Regions from separate parts of the Homo sapiens genome. Here region 1 is linked to region 2. Evidence: promoter capture Hi-C in 16 types of primary human blood cells and fetal thymus (Javierre and others, 2016). All regions are on one chromosome and are shown on one strand. Each heading gives the region's core, a stretch centred on a gene start or on the middle of the fragment in contact. The rest is flanking DNA. Distances are from core to core; before and after follow the strand shown.

The links. The method cuts DNA at HindIII sites, captures the fragments that hold promoters and counts their contacts. A CHiCAGO score of 5 or more calls a contact.
Region 1: a contact is called between a fragment that was not itself captured here and the fragment with the promoter of OR51E1 in region 2, in 3 of 17 cell types (naive B cells, erythroblasts and megakaryocytes). The highest score is 5.8, in naive B cells.

The regions. Positions count from the first base shown.
Region 1 is chr11:4,981,673-4,987,432 of GRCh38, forward strand. The region is part of intron 2 of MMP26 (matrix metallopeptidase 26); the gene reads left to right. Among named protein-coding and RNA genes, the nearest start is that of OR51L1, 10 kb to the right of the region's middle. The HindIII fragment of the contact is 6,427 bases long and covers 1,298-5,760 here.
Region 2 is chr11:4,642,091-4,648,311 of GRCh38, forward strand. It overlaps OR51E1 (olfactory receptor family 51 subfamily E member 1), which reads left to right and starts at 1,892. Exons shown (of 2, transcript NM_152430.4): 1 at 1,892-1,940. It overlaps OR51D1 (olfactory receptor family 51 subfamily D member 1), which reads left to right. Exons shown (of 2, transcript NM_001004751.3): 2 at 1-970. The HindIII fragment of the contact is 7,717 bases long and covers 1-3,311 here.

The sequences.
Region 1 (5,760 bases), core at 3,261-5,760, 340 kb after region 2:
TATAACTTTTTTATTTACAAACTTCAATTTTTTAAACTTTTGAATCTTTTGTAACAGCACTTAGCTTAAACACAACCACATTGTATAACTGTAAAAAATTTTTTCTTTATATCCTTATTCTATAAGCTTTTTATACTTTTAAGTTTTTTTCTTTTTTTTCTTTTTTAAACTTTTTGTTAGAAACTAATACATAAACACTACATTGCCTAGGCCTACACAGGCTCAGGATCATCAATATCATTGTCTTACACCTCCATATCTTGTCCCACTGGAAGGTCTTCAGGGTGCATGGAGTTGTCATCTCCTATAACAACAATTCCTTCTTCTGAAATACCTCCTGACTGACCTGCCTGAAGTTGTTTTGCAGTTAACTTTACATATATATGTATGTATGTATATATATATATACACACAATATACATACATACATATATACAATATACATACACATATAAACATATACATATATATTGAGTACACTCTGAATGATAAAATTTTAGTGTAGTAAATACATACACCAATAACAGTTGTTTATTATCTTTATCAGGAATTATATACTGTATATAATTGTATGTGCTATACTTCTGTAGGATTGGTGGTGAAGTCAGTTTCTTTATATCAGCATTATCAGAAATGCAATGTGTTATGACGTTACGACAGCTACAATGTCACTACATGATAGGAATTTCCAGCTTCATTACAATCTTATGGGAGCACCATGCTAATGTGGTCCATTATTGAATAACACTGTTATGTGGCACATGACTATACATGTTTACGTCTGCCTGTATGAAAGTTAAAAATTGCAGGCTCTGGCAATTGTAAAGTCTCTAAATTTCGACAAATTACTCAACTCCCTGAGTCTTAATTCCCTAATTTGTAAAATAAAAGTTGTTCATGTAATTAAATGACATAATTCATACAAATAGCACTTAACAATCAGTAAAAGTTGGTTACTCTTATAATTACTATTTTGATAAGTAGTATACTTATCTGAATAAACACCAGTATAAATACATATTTACAAGAGGTAAAGGGTATAAAATATTTACATGACTTTTAAATCCCTACGGGATCCATTTCTTACTTCACTCTCTGTTCTTATCTGTATGAAAGAGGTTTGCTCAGGCAAAACCTATACTCTAATCAAAAGAAATGACCTGAGGTTCTAGGCTTTTTCCCAGCGTTCCTACAACATTGTTGAAATGTGTAAGGTCCAGGTTACATCACCTCCTCTATTTACCTCCTCATAGAAATCCATGTGGGTTAAGATCTCACTCCAATTAGCCACTAGCAAAGCTTGTATAGGTTTTTATTCTGAGGCTTATTACTGTCTCACAATTCTATGTTTATTTAATAGACCATTCTATGAGACGGTAAACTAACTTAAAGCAGGCTTTGTGTCTTAATAGCCTTTGCACACCAGTAATATGCCATTCTCTCAGTTGAATAAATAAATTGCAAATGCAAAATAGTTTCAGGAGAGAAAATATACACTTTCTATGATGATCACTAAATGACTGTGTGGTTCTGTGCTGTACTGGGGCATCGATGGCTCCTTGCAGCCTGCCCAGCCCCATGGTTCTTATCTCATTACCCTCTATGCTCTCTATTGGTAATCCTTCTCTTAGCATTAGCTCAAACTATGGTATTGCGGTGAAAGCATTTGTTCTCTGTCAAAATGAATTAGATATTGAATCTTCTCCAGAAGAGCTGCCAGTGTCATGACAATGGCATCAATTTTCCAATGCCCCACAAACTCTCCCTGCACCCACTCTTTACCTGAGTAACAGAAAAAGTGGCCGTGCAGTCTGATATCTTCAAAATTACGTTTTCTCATTTCTTCCAGAAGGAGATGGGAAACAATTCAAAATCTGCTAGGAGAGGTCCTAGGCACAGGCCAGATGTTTATACCCAGCAGATCAAATACTATAGCCATAATGAGAAAGATGAAAGCATAGATGGGGGTGAGAGGAGAGATAGGGGCCTGTTTCCATAGTTCTGATTTTAAAAATAATATATAAAATCTGGTATCCATTATTAAAACTTTCTGGTTAAATTCACAGGTCTTTTGTTCCTTACATTGCCAATATCTTCTGCCTCATAACTACTTAAAAAGTTTGATTTTGGATCAGCAGCATTGGCATCACCTAGGATCTTGTTAGAAATTTAGAATATTAGGCTTATTCAAGACCTGTTGAATTAGAATCTGCATTTTTATTAATATCCACAGGCGATTCTATGCATATTACATTTTGAGAAACACTGTTGTGCTTTCAACACATTACTTCCCTTATCAGCAGCTGAATCGTTAATAAGTCACTCATTTGCTTTCTTAGTTAAGCTGGCTCTCAGCAGTCAGCACTCATGTATTTGAGTGCTGGGTCAGGCTTACAGATGGCTGCTCATCTGTGCCGGCCCTATCGGATTGCATGGGGCATACTGGGAGTTCCAGGAGCAGCATTAGAGAGGTGCGTGTCAAGATGAAAGACGGGGCAGTCTCATCAAAAGTGGCAATCCAGGCCAGTGATCAAAGATTCTGCCTTCAGAATAAAATACTCTTTATTTATAACTTCTATACATAACTTTGAGCATTGTGACCCCCCAAAATGACAATTAAATGACCTCAAAGCCTCATTTCCTTAACTATAAGATGAATACTATAAAACACCTACTTCACAGGTAGTTGTGTTGATGAAGAAAGTGCATTCTTGGCACAGCGTATGCGCTCAATAAGTTGTTATAATGATCACTTGTCCTGTGTTGAGCGATCTGAATTATATGCTCGTATGTATCAATAGTTTGTTAAGTATTCACTCACTTCTGATTTCATTACCAGCTATGAGATTTTTTTTACTGAACACTTTTATTAATTTAATGAATAATGGGTTCCTTCCAAGTTCCAAAGTCTGTGCTACAGATATTAATGCAACTTGACGTCGCTGTCATTAATGAGCCTACAGTGTCATTTATGGGCCTGGAAAATATGAGGGCTTCTTTATATTTCATTTTTTTCAATTTGTTAGTAAATTTGTCAATTGACAAATATAAATTGTGTATAGTTATTGTGTACAACAGAATATTTTGAAATTTCAGGAGGGTTTCATTTATTAACATTTCTGCAACAGAATTTCAAGAATACATCAGAGTGATTGAGGAACCATGCTCTATGGGGGTTCTCTGGTCACCTTCTTTCAATGGGATAGAGAGATTTAACCTGATTTTTAACCATCCTAGAGAAGTCTATGTTCAGAACACCGGAGAAAGTGTGAGAGACTTAGAGGATTTTTTTTTATTTTTGCTTCTTTCAAAACTACTATAGATTTTGAATAAGTTTTAGTCATTTTCACCTTGTTTCTTTCATTGTGATTCCACTGAGCTTAGGTTTTTGAATGTATTCAGGCCATAGAAACATCAAAGATATGTCGATGATATTATTGATGGAGATCTGCCAGCAGTGATAAGCAGCATGCCTCATTTAATACATAATCTGACTTAAAACTTAGTCAGATATAGATGTAAATATCAATATTTTATCATTTCCATGGAAAGAGTTTTATATTCCCCAAACCCTAGTTTATTAATCTTTGAAATGAGAATATAATAAGGTCTATATCACCATGAGATTTTAGTGAACAAACTCATAATTTACAAAGTTGATAGAGGTTATCAGGAATAACAATCTCTATACCATATTTGTCTAACAACAAACATCATTGTTTCCATAGGCAGTCTTAAATCCATCTTGCCTTTTTCAGATTAACCATATTCTCTTTTCCAAGTATATCACATATATCTTATTTTATTAATTCCTCTGGTTGACATTCCATTATTTACCCATGTCTTTAGCACATAACGTTCTTCTTTTAGAACATTAACTGGGATATAGCACTCGCATTACAATATCATCCACAAAATGATTATTTATATGCTCATTTGACCACATACATTACCATTTATATTACAGTTCTATATTCCTCATGGTGAAATGGGTGCCGCTTTTGGTACCTTATTAATCTATATTTTTATTTTCTTAATTCATTGAAATTGTATTTATTTTTGTAGAGGTTTAATGGTATGATATATGAATCTTAAGTGTACAGCTTAGTGAGTTTCAAAAAGTGAATATATTTGTATTACCCAGATATCAGTCAAGAAATAGACATTTCATTCCTGGATAAATTTCTATTGTGCTCCTTTACCAACAATCCCCTCCATGACAGAGGCAACCACTATACTCATTGCTTTCTGCAAAATTAGCTTTCCTTGTTCTTGAGCCTCAAATAGGATTACCATTTGGTTTCCCATGTCTTTAATTCAACATGTTTTTAATGTTGTCTATTCTGTTGCCTGCTGCTGTTGAGTAGTAACCATCTATCTATCTCTCATCTATCTGTTGACCTCCCTCCACATATATATCATGTTGTTTAATCCTGTTGATGAAGTATTTCGTTAATAGATTTGAAGCGAATTTTCTCTATTCATTAATAGTGTGACTTTGGCATGTTCTTTCACCTCTTTGAGTCTCATTTTTTTTAACCTATAAAATTTTTATACTATATTTTAATCTATACCAAAGGTTTAAAACACAGAATTGCCTTATAATAAGCCCTCAATAATTGTGTATTTTTAACAAATTCTTTCATTATCTTCCATTTTAATTCTTTTATTTTTATTTTTTTATTTTTTCTTGGAGATAGGATCTCACTCTGTTGTCAAGGCTAGAATGCAGTGGCATGATCATGGATCACTACAGCCAAGACCTCCCAGGCTCAAATGATCCTCCCACCTCAGCCTCCTGAGTAGCTGGGACAAGTGAGCACCACCATGCCCAGTCGATTTTTTTTTTTTTTTTTTTTTTTTTTTTTTTTTTTTTGAGACAGAATCTCACTCTGTTTCCCAGGCTGGAGTGCAGTGGCATGATCTCGGCTCACTGCAACCTCCGCCTTCTGGGTTCAAGTGATTCTCCTGCCTCAGCCTCCCAAGTAGCTGGGATTACAGGGGCCTGTCACCATGCTGGGCTAATTTTTTTGTATTTTTAGTAGAGACGGGGTTTCACTATGTTGGCCGGGCTGGTCTTGAACTCCTGACCTCAGGTGATCCGCCCACCTCAGCCTCCCAAAGTGCAGGGATTACAGGAGTGAGCCACTGCGCCTGGCCTAGTTGAACAGCTTTTAAGTAGCAGAGTTAGGACTCATTTCCAGAGTTCTGTGACTTCCTTCCTTCCTTCCTTTCTCTCTCTCTCTCTCTCTCTCTCTCCCTCTCTCTCTCTCTCTCTCTCTCTCTCCCTCTCTCTCTCTCTCTTTCTTTCTTTCTTAGATGGAGTTTCGCTCTTGTTGCCCAGGCTGGAGTGCACGTGCCACATGCTCGGCTACTTTTTTGTATTTTTAGTAGACATGGAGTTTCACCACGTTGGTCAGGCTGGTCTCAAACTCCTGACCTCAGGTGATCCATCCTCCTCAGCCTCCCAAAGTGCTGGGATTACAGGTGTGAGCCACTGCACCCAGCCGAGTCGTGTGATTTCTAAGGTAATAGCTGAAATATTTTGCTGTGAGATATATATGTATATGTATCTATACATATACATAAACATGTACATCTATAGACGTGTGCGTGTCAACTTATTATCAATGCTTTGTTTTCTTCAACATATAGCTATTAACTACCTCTTTCTGTGTTTTTCTAGATCTCTTTTACATAGGTCTTGGAGATTTTTTTTGTTTTGTTTTTTGTGGTTTTTTTTTGTTTTTTGTTTTTTGT
Region 2 (6,221 bases), core at 642-3,141:
TGCCCAGTTTCTCGGCCTGGGGTCAGCCTGGGTGATAGCTCAGTCTGTCAGAATGAAAGGAAACACGGTGCTTCCTTGCTCCACCTTTTCACAGGCCAGACCACACCTTCTTCATCCTGAACACAAGGATTTCAAGGGCTTTTGTTACCTCTTCCTACGTTTCCTGCCTCTGCTATCCGAGGCACTGGCCTCCCTAAACCCTGCCCTCCTGCCTCAATAGCAAGTCATGGTATCCTCACCTCTCCCTTCCCTTTTTGGCTTATCTGCCAAACATGTATAAAAGTCCTTGGTTCCCCATCTCTACTAAAAATACAACAATTAGCCGGGTGTGATGGCGCGTGCCTGTAGTCCCAGCTAGTTGGGAGGCTGAGGCAGGAGAAACGCTTGAGCCCGCAAGGTGGAGGTTGCAGTGAGCCGAGATCATGCCACTGCACTCCAGCCTGGTGACAGAGCAAGACTCTGTGTCAAAAAAAAAAAAAAAAAAAAAGCCTTGGTTGTAGGGAGTTTCTCCTAATCCCTCTGGGAAAGCAAGGGTGGAGGGGAAGCCAGTCAATCTCCCTTCTGTTGCCGCATGGAAACTCCCTTAAGGCAGGAAGCTGAAAAAACTGTAGCATTCACCTCATTATTCACCTTGTCTCATGTCTCACTGTCCTTCCACATGTCTCATTGTTACTCCATATTGGATGGAAGTAGAAGTCCCTTTGGTATTTTTTAAAGTCTTTGCCATGTCTAAGTTAATGAGGTTAATGGAGGCAGCAGAGATGGCTCCAGGGTTCTGATAGCAAGTGTCAGGCTGCGTGCTCTGTAGGCACCAGAAACTGTTGTCACCAGTAATTTTGATGTGGTCTGAGTTAGAATGGTCTGATTTGCCATGATCTATTTAACATAGCTTGATTTAGCGTGTCCTGTGTTCTGAATTTAAAACTCACAGTTGTGAAACTGATCAGTAAAAAATAAGGGGAGACCAACTAAAAACCATGTTGTTCTATTTATAGATGTAGTTTTTACTTATTTCAAAATACGAGGTATTTAGTTTTACATTCAAATTGTTCTCTAACTCTCTAAAATGTTCTCTGACTATTTTTGCCCTTAAGGGAGAAACCAGATGTCATTGGTCTTACGTGGCTGGTGTTGGGGGTGGGGAGGGTTAAAGAAACCACGTTCTCTGTCCTCAGCCAGAAGTTCAGTAATCCAAGGCCAGAGAGTGGACGGCAGAGGCACTGTCCCTGGGGACCTTGGTTATAAGTTATCCAGACACAGGGACCAGAGCCTGGGAGACAAAAAAAGATGTAGCCCTAGGGCTTTGGGAAAAGGAGGATGGACCCAGTGAATTCCACGCTTAGCAAGGACCTAAACAGTGTCCCCCAAATGAGAGAAGGGAGGACAGAAAGAACACTTCAGGATGGAAATGGGCTGACACTTAACCGTGGAGTGTCTCTGCAAACTTCCTTTGCCATTCTCCTGTTTGAGTTTGATAAACCTGAGAAGAGACTTGGATAAAGACCGTCACGAAGACTACACTAATGAGTTTCTTCTAGCTTTTTTCTACTCACTTTCCCTATCTATCCTTCACATTGGGAGTTGGCATGAGGATCCCAGCAGCCCATCAGGGGAGGACTCTAGAGATCCCTTTCCCCATTGCCTCTCCTCCCCATACCCCCAGGCATATCCTCCCAGGGCACGGAAGCTGAGAAGCAGTCCAGAACCACAGTGGGCTAGTGAGGGGTACCTGCTGATGTACCCTTTGGACAGCATTCTGCCCCACCCTGCAGGAAGAAGCAGAAGGAGGGAGAGGGTGAGGCAGAGAATAAATAACCCTGACCAGGGAGGTCCAAGGGAGTAGGCGGAGACAGAGAGGCTGTATTTCAGTGCAGCCTGCCAGACCTCTTCTGGAGGAAGACTGGACAAAGGGGGTCACACATTCCTTCCATACGGTTGAGGTGAGTGCAGGAGGCCAGGGGCATGTCCAGGTGCATGGGTTACTTGCAGCTAGGGGTCTCCTGTTAGACTTGCTGAGTGCATGAGAAGCCAGGCTGTGAAGAACCAGAAGTGGGAGATGTGTAGGAAGCCCCTGACTCAAAGGACAGGCAGCCTTAGTGATCTCTAGGTTTGTGTGCTGAACAGAAAGCATGTGGGTGCTGGAGGTAGCCTAAGGGTAGTTTTCAAGCAGTTTTTCAGTGATTAGTTTACTAGTATGCCCATCTGGAGGCTGGCAGGGGCTGATGTGAATGAGGACAGAGGACAGAGGACAGGCTGGGCTGGGGTTAGACTGGGGCTGCATTGGGGTTGGGTCGGGGTTTGGTGTGTGAACAGGGTGAACGTGGTTGAAGCTCAGTCTATGACTGGGGATGAGGCTGCAGCTGGGGTGGAAGTGGGGCTCTGAGTGAGGTTGGTTTCACTGTATGCTGTACATCAGGAGTCAGGCTGTGGCTGAGACTGGGACTTAGTAATCTTCCTGGGGCTCCGATCTCAGCTTGGTCTGTGTCTAGGATCAGGATTCAGTCTTCAGCCCATTTAAAAAGTAGATTAGTGTCCACACGGCAACACCCCTTGCCTTGTACTCTTTACCCTAGCTACACTAAGTCACTTTCAGCTTTCCAAACAAGGTCTGTTCTCTTTCTCTCTGGCTCTTTGTATTAGCCAGGATGTATTTTTAAAAACAAACTAGATAAGTTCTGTTGCTGAAATTCCCCCAAGTCACTCAGAATTAAACCAAAGCTCCTTGCCATACCCTGCAAGACCCTGTTACCTGATGAGGTCCTTGCCTTCCTCCCGCCTCATCTTCTCAAACTCTGTTGTGCTCTTGATGCTCTGGCCACCTTGACCTTCCTTTTGTTCCATGAATCCCCCAATATCATTCTTGCTGGGGGACGCTTTTCTCTTGCTGTCTCCCACAGTTGGAATGCACTTTCCCTGGATCTTAGAATGGCTGGTGTTTTCTCATCACATGTCACATCCTTAAGAGAGGCTTTTTCTGACCCCTGTCTCCAGTATGAGTGTCCTGCACCCATCTTCCTCTGTCCTATCACTCTTTCTTTCGTGCCCTTATCTTCAACTGAAATTTTATTTGTTTACTTCTCATTATTGGCCTCGTGTTATATGAGCTCCATAAAAGCCATCATCTTGTCTGATTTATCTACTGTTTCATCTCCAGTTTTTGACACTCAATATGTTTTTGTTGTCTAACCGAATGCTGCTGTGCCCCACCCCATTAACTGCCTGTGTCACTGCCCCATTACCTGCCTGCAGCAGGTCCCGCCACTGCCATGGCTTAAATGTCACCTCCTCAGGGAAGCCCTTGGAACCTAAAAAGCTTGCTGAGCTATTGTTGTCTTTGCTTCTGAGGCCCTTTTGCTTCCCCTTGTCCCAGAATTTATCATAATGTGCTGTGATGGCTGCATATTTGTCTCAATTTCTCCCCATCCTTGGAAGGCTGGAACGATATCTCTGGTACTCAGTGGAGTCTGGCACAGAAGTCCGTCAATGATTATTGAAAAAATGAGTACACTGATCAAAATCCCACTTTGGGCATTTCCCTTGCCTTACATTTGCTTGCAGCCAGAATAGCTCTACAGGGAACTGGTAACTAGGTGCAGCTTTGCAGATCTTTAGAACACTTATCTGGTCCTACTCAGGAAGTGGAGGAGCAGAGACCTGAAACCTAGGAACTCTGCCTAGGGGTGATTTTAGGTGGTCAGGCTGACTTGAGTGACCAGGGTGGGGTGAGGGCTCACTTGGCTTTTTGGGAGTTAGAAGTTGCTCTCTCTCATCTTTCCATTTTCATCTTGGCCATTTTAAGAAGAGTGACCAACACCTTGCAAGGGTTCATCTGCTTTATTAAATACAAGCAAGGTGTGGGGCACAGTGGATGCAGATAATTTGAGTGGAAGTCATGCTGGGGCTACTACCCTCACTAAGTGTTAGGGAAGGGACTCTATTTAAGAATCAAGTGACAAGCTCCTCCAGTCCTTGCCAGCCACAGCATTGCCCCTGAGGTCTGCCTTCCCTCTCTGTGCCTGGGATGAGGAGCCAGAGGCTCCCAGGTATGTCTGGGCTTCTCTCCAGGGACATTCTTTTCTAAATATTCCCAGAGGCTGACAGCAGCGCCAGAGGCCCTCACTCCATTGCTCTGGGCATGAAACATTCTGTGTGTTTAGCCCAGATAGTGACACTGACAATGAATCTCCTCCTGGTTCTCCTTCCACACTGAACCTAAGTGGGGAGAGCTGGTCATGTGTCCTGAGTCCGAGAGGGGCCCCTGGACTCATGGGTCATCAGTGTTGGATTCCTGAGAGATTAATATTGAAATAGTGCTTACAAAGCGAAGTCCCTTCTTAAGGAGACATGGGGAGGGGTAGGGCAGTAGCTTGGCCTACTGTAAAGCAATGGATTTAGCACTAAGGGCTCTAACTAACCCTCAACATCCTTATCTGTCAAATGGGATTAATGATATCTGCTTGACAGGTGGATGAGAGGCTCTAATTAGATAATAAGGAAATACGTGGTAGAGGACAAGCCTTTTAATCTCCATTGTGGGGCCTACCCACCTCACAGCCTTTGGAGTTAGGGCTGAAAGAGGAGGTGAGTGTCCCAAGTTCCAGTGCAGAAGAGTCTTCTTTGCAGCCCTCTTGGTTTCCCTTCTAAGAGTATACCCAGGGCAGCTGTGCTACTTACCAAGCCCTTCTTATACCTTGCCTTTTGGGTGGATTTTATTAGCTTTCAGAAGGTGCAGCAAAATTAAAGGCAGCCTAGAATGAGGGAAAGTGTATAGGCCTTGGTATGAGACTATCTAGGTTAAGTTTCTGCATTACCAGTCACCTGTTAAACTTTGGTTATGTTATTTAATGTCTTGGAGCCTCAGTTTTCTCACCCATAATATAGAAAGGATCCATAGTATTCACCCATAATATAGAGAGGATCCATGGTGCAGCAAGAAGGGATGTTGATGACTTTGGCCCCTTTGCCTGAAGTTCTAGGTTAAATCGGTTTCTCTGCCTTAAACTTTCCCTCCCAGCAGATTGAATTAAACACCCTCACCTTCTGCAGAGCTGTTCCCAGATTAGAGATAATATTTATACAGATGGCACTGTATAGTTTCTGTCATTTTGTAGGTGCTCAATAATCTATGTTCATATTATAAAAACAACAAAATCAGGGTTAAAGGTGACCTCATTGTTCTCTTGGGTCAGAAGAGATAGGGCTAATAGGCTAATGGTACACCTTTGGAGTACCATCTCACTAAGTTCTAATTACTAACAGCTGCTCAAGCTGGAAGGCCATCTGGAAGTCTTCTGTCCCTCTGCCTGTCTTGTGGAGGGACTATGGAACATTGGGATGCTTCAGGGCTGGCCAGTCTGAAGGGTGGCACTTGGGCCCTCTGGCTGGCTTCCTCTCCATCCCTTCATTTCTCTCCTGCTGTCTGGTTTATCTCTCTGACTGCTTTTTCACGGGTCTATGAGAAGGAGTTCTAGGGAAGAATGTGAGGATGGGCTGGTGAGGGGGGCTGGGCTGGCATTAGGAGACAGAGTTCTGAAGCCCGGGGGAAGGAAGGGAGAGGACTGAAGGCCTCCACGTGGATTTCCAGTCTTTACAGCTGGGAGCTCCTGTTCCCCTATTCCTGAGAAAAGGTTAAGATGTCCTTCATAGTTCCTGAAGAAACATTCCTGGAACTTGCTAAGATAGTTCAACTTATTCACAGAAAATCTCAGCACAGGGCTATTCCTTGGGGATTAGAGCAGTGTGTGAGCTTTCTAAAAAAAAAATGCTTTGTTAGTTTATTTTTTCTTGATTGTGCCTTATTTTCAAAATAATTTAGTTCCAAGTTCCTCCAGAGCTCAAAACCATCTCACTGAGTTTTAATTACTAACAGCTGCTCAAGCTGGAAGGCCACCTGGAAGTCATCTGGTCACTCTGCCTGTCTCGTGGAGGGACTGTTGAACATTGGGACGCTTCAGGGCTGGCCAGTCTGAACGGTGGCACTTGAGCTCTCTGGCTGGCTCCTTCTCCATCCATTCATTTCTCTCCTGCTGTAGTCTTCTGGGGTCCAGGCTGATATTTTAGCCCCAGCGATAGCTGCCCATTTTATACTGCCTAGGCACCTCCTTCCCAGGCCAGCTAAATCTTCCTTTTGTTGATTTCTGGTATCTTTGTATCAGTGCCCAGTCTTGCTATTGTGAGAAATTGACTGCTAGTAAATATGTGTGTGTATGAGTGTGTACATA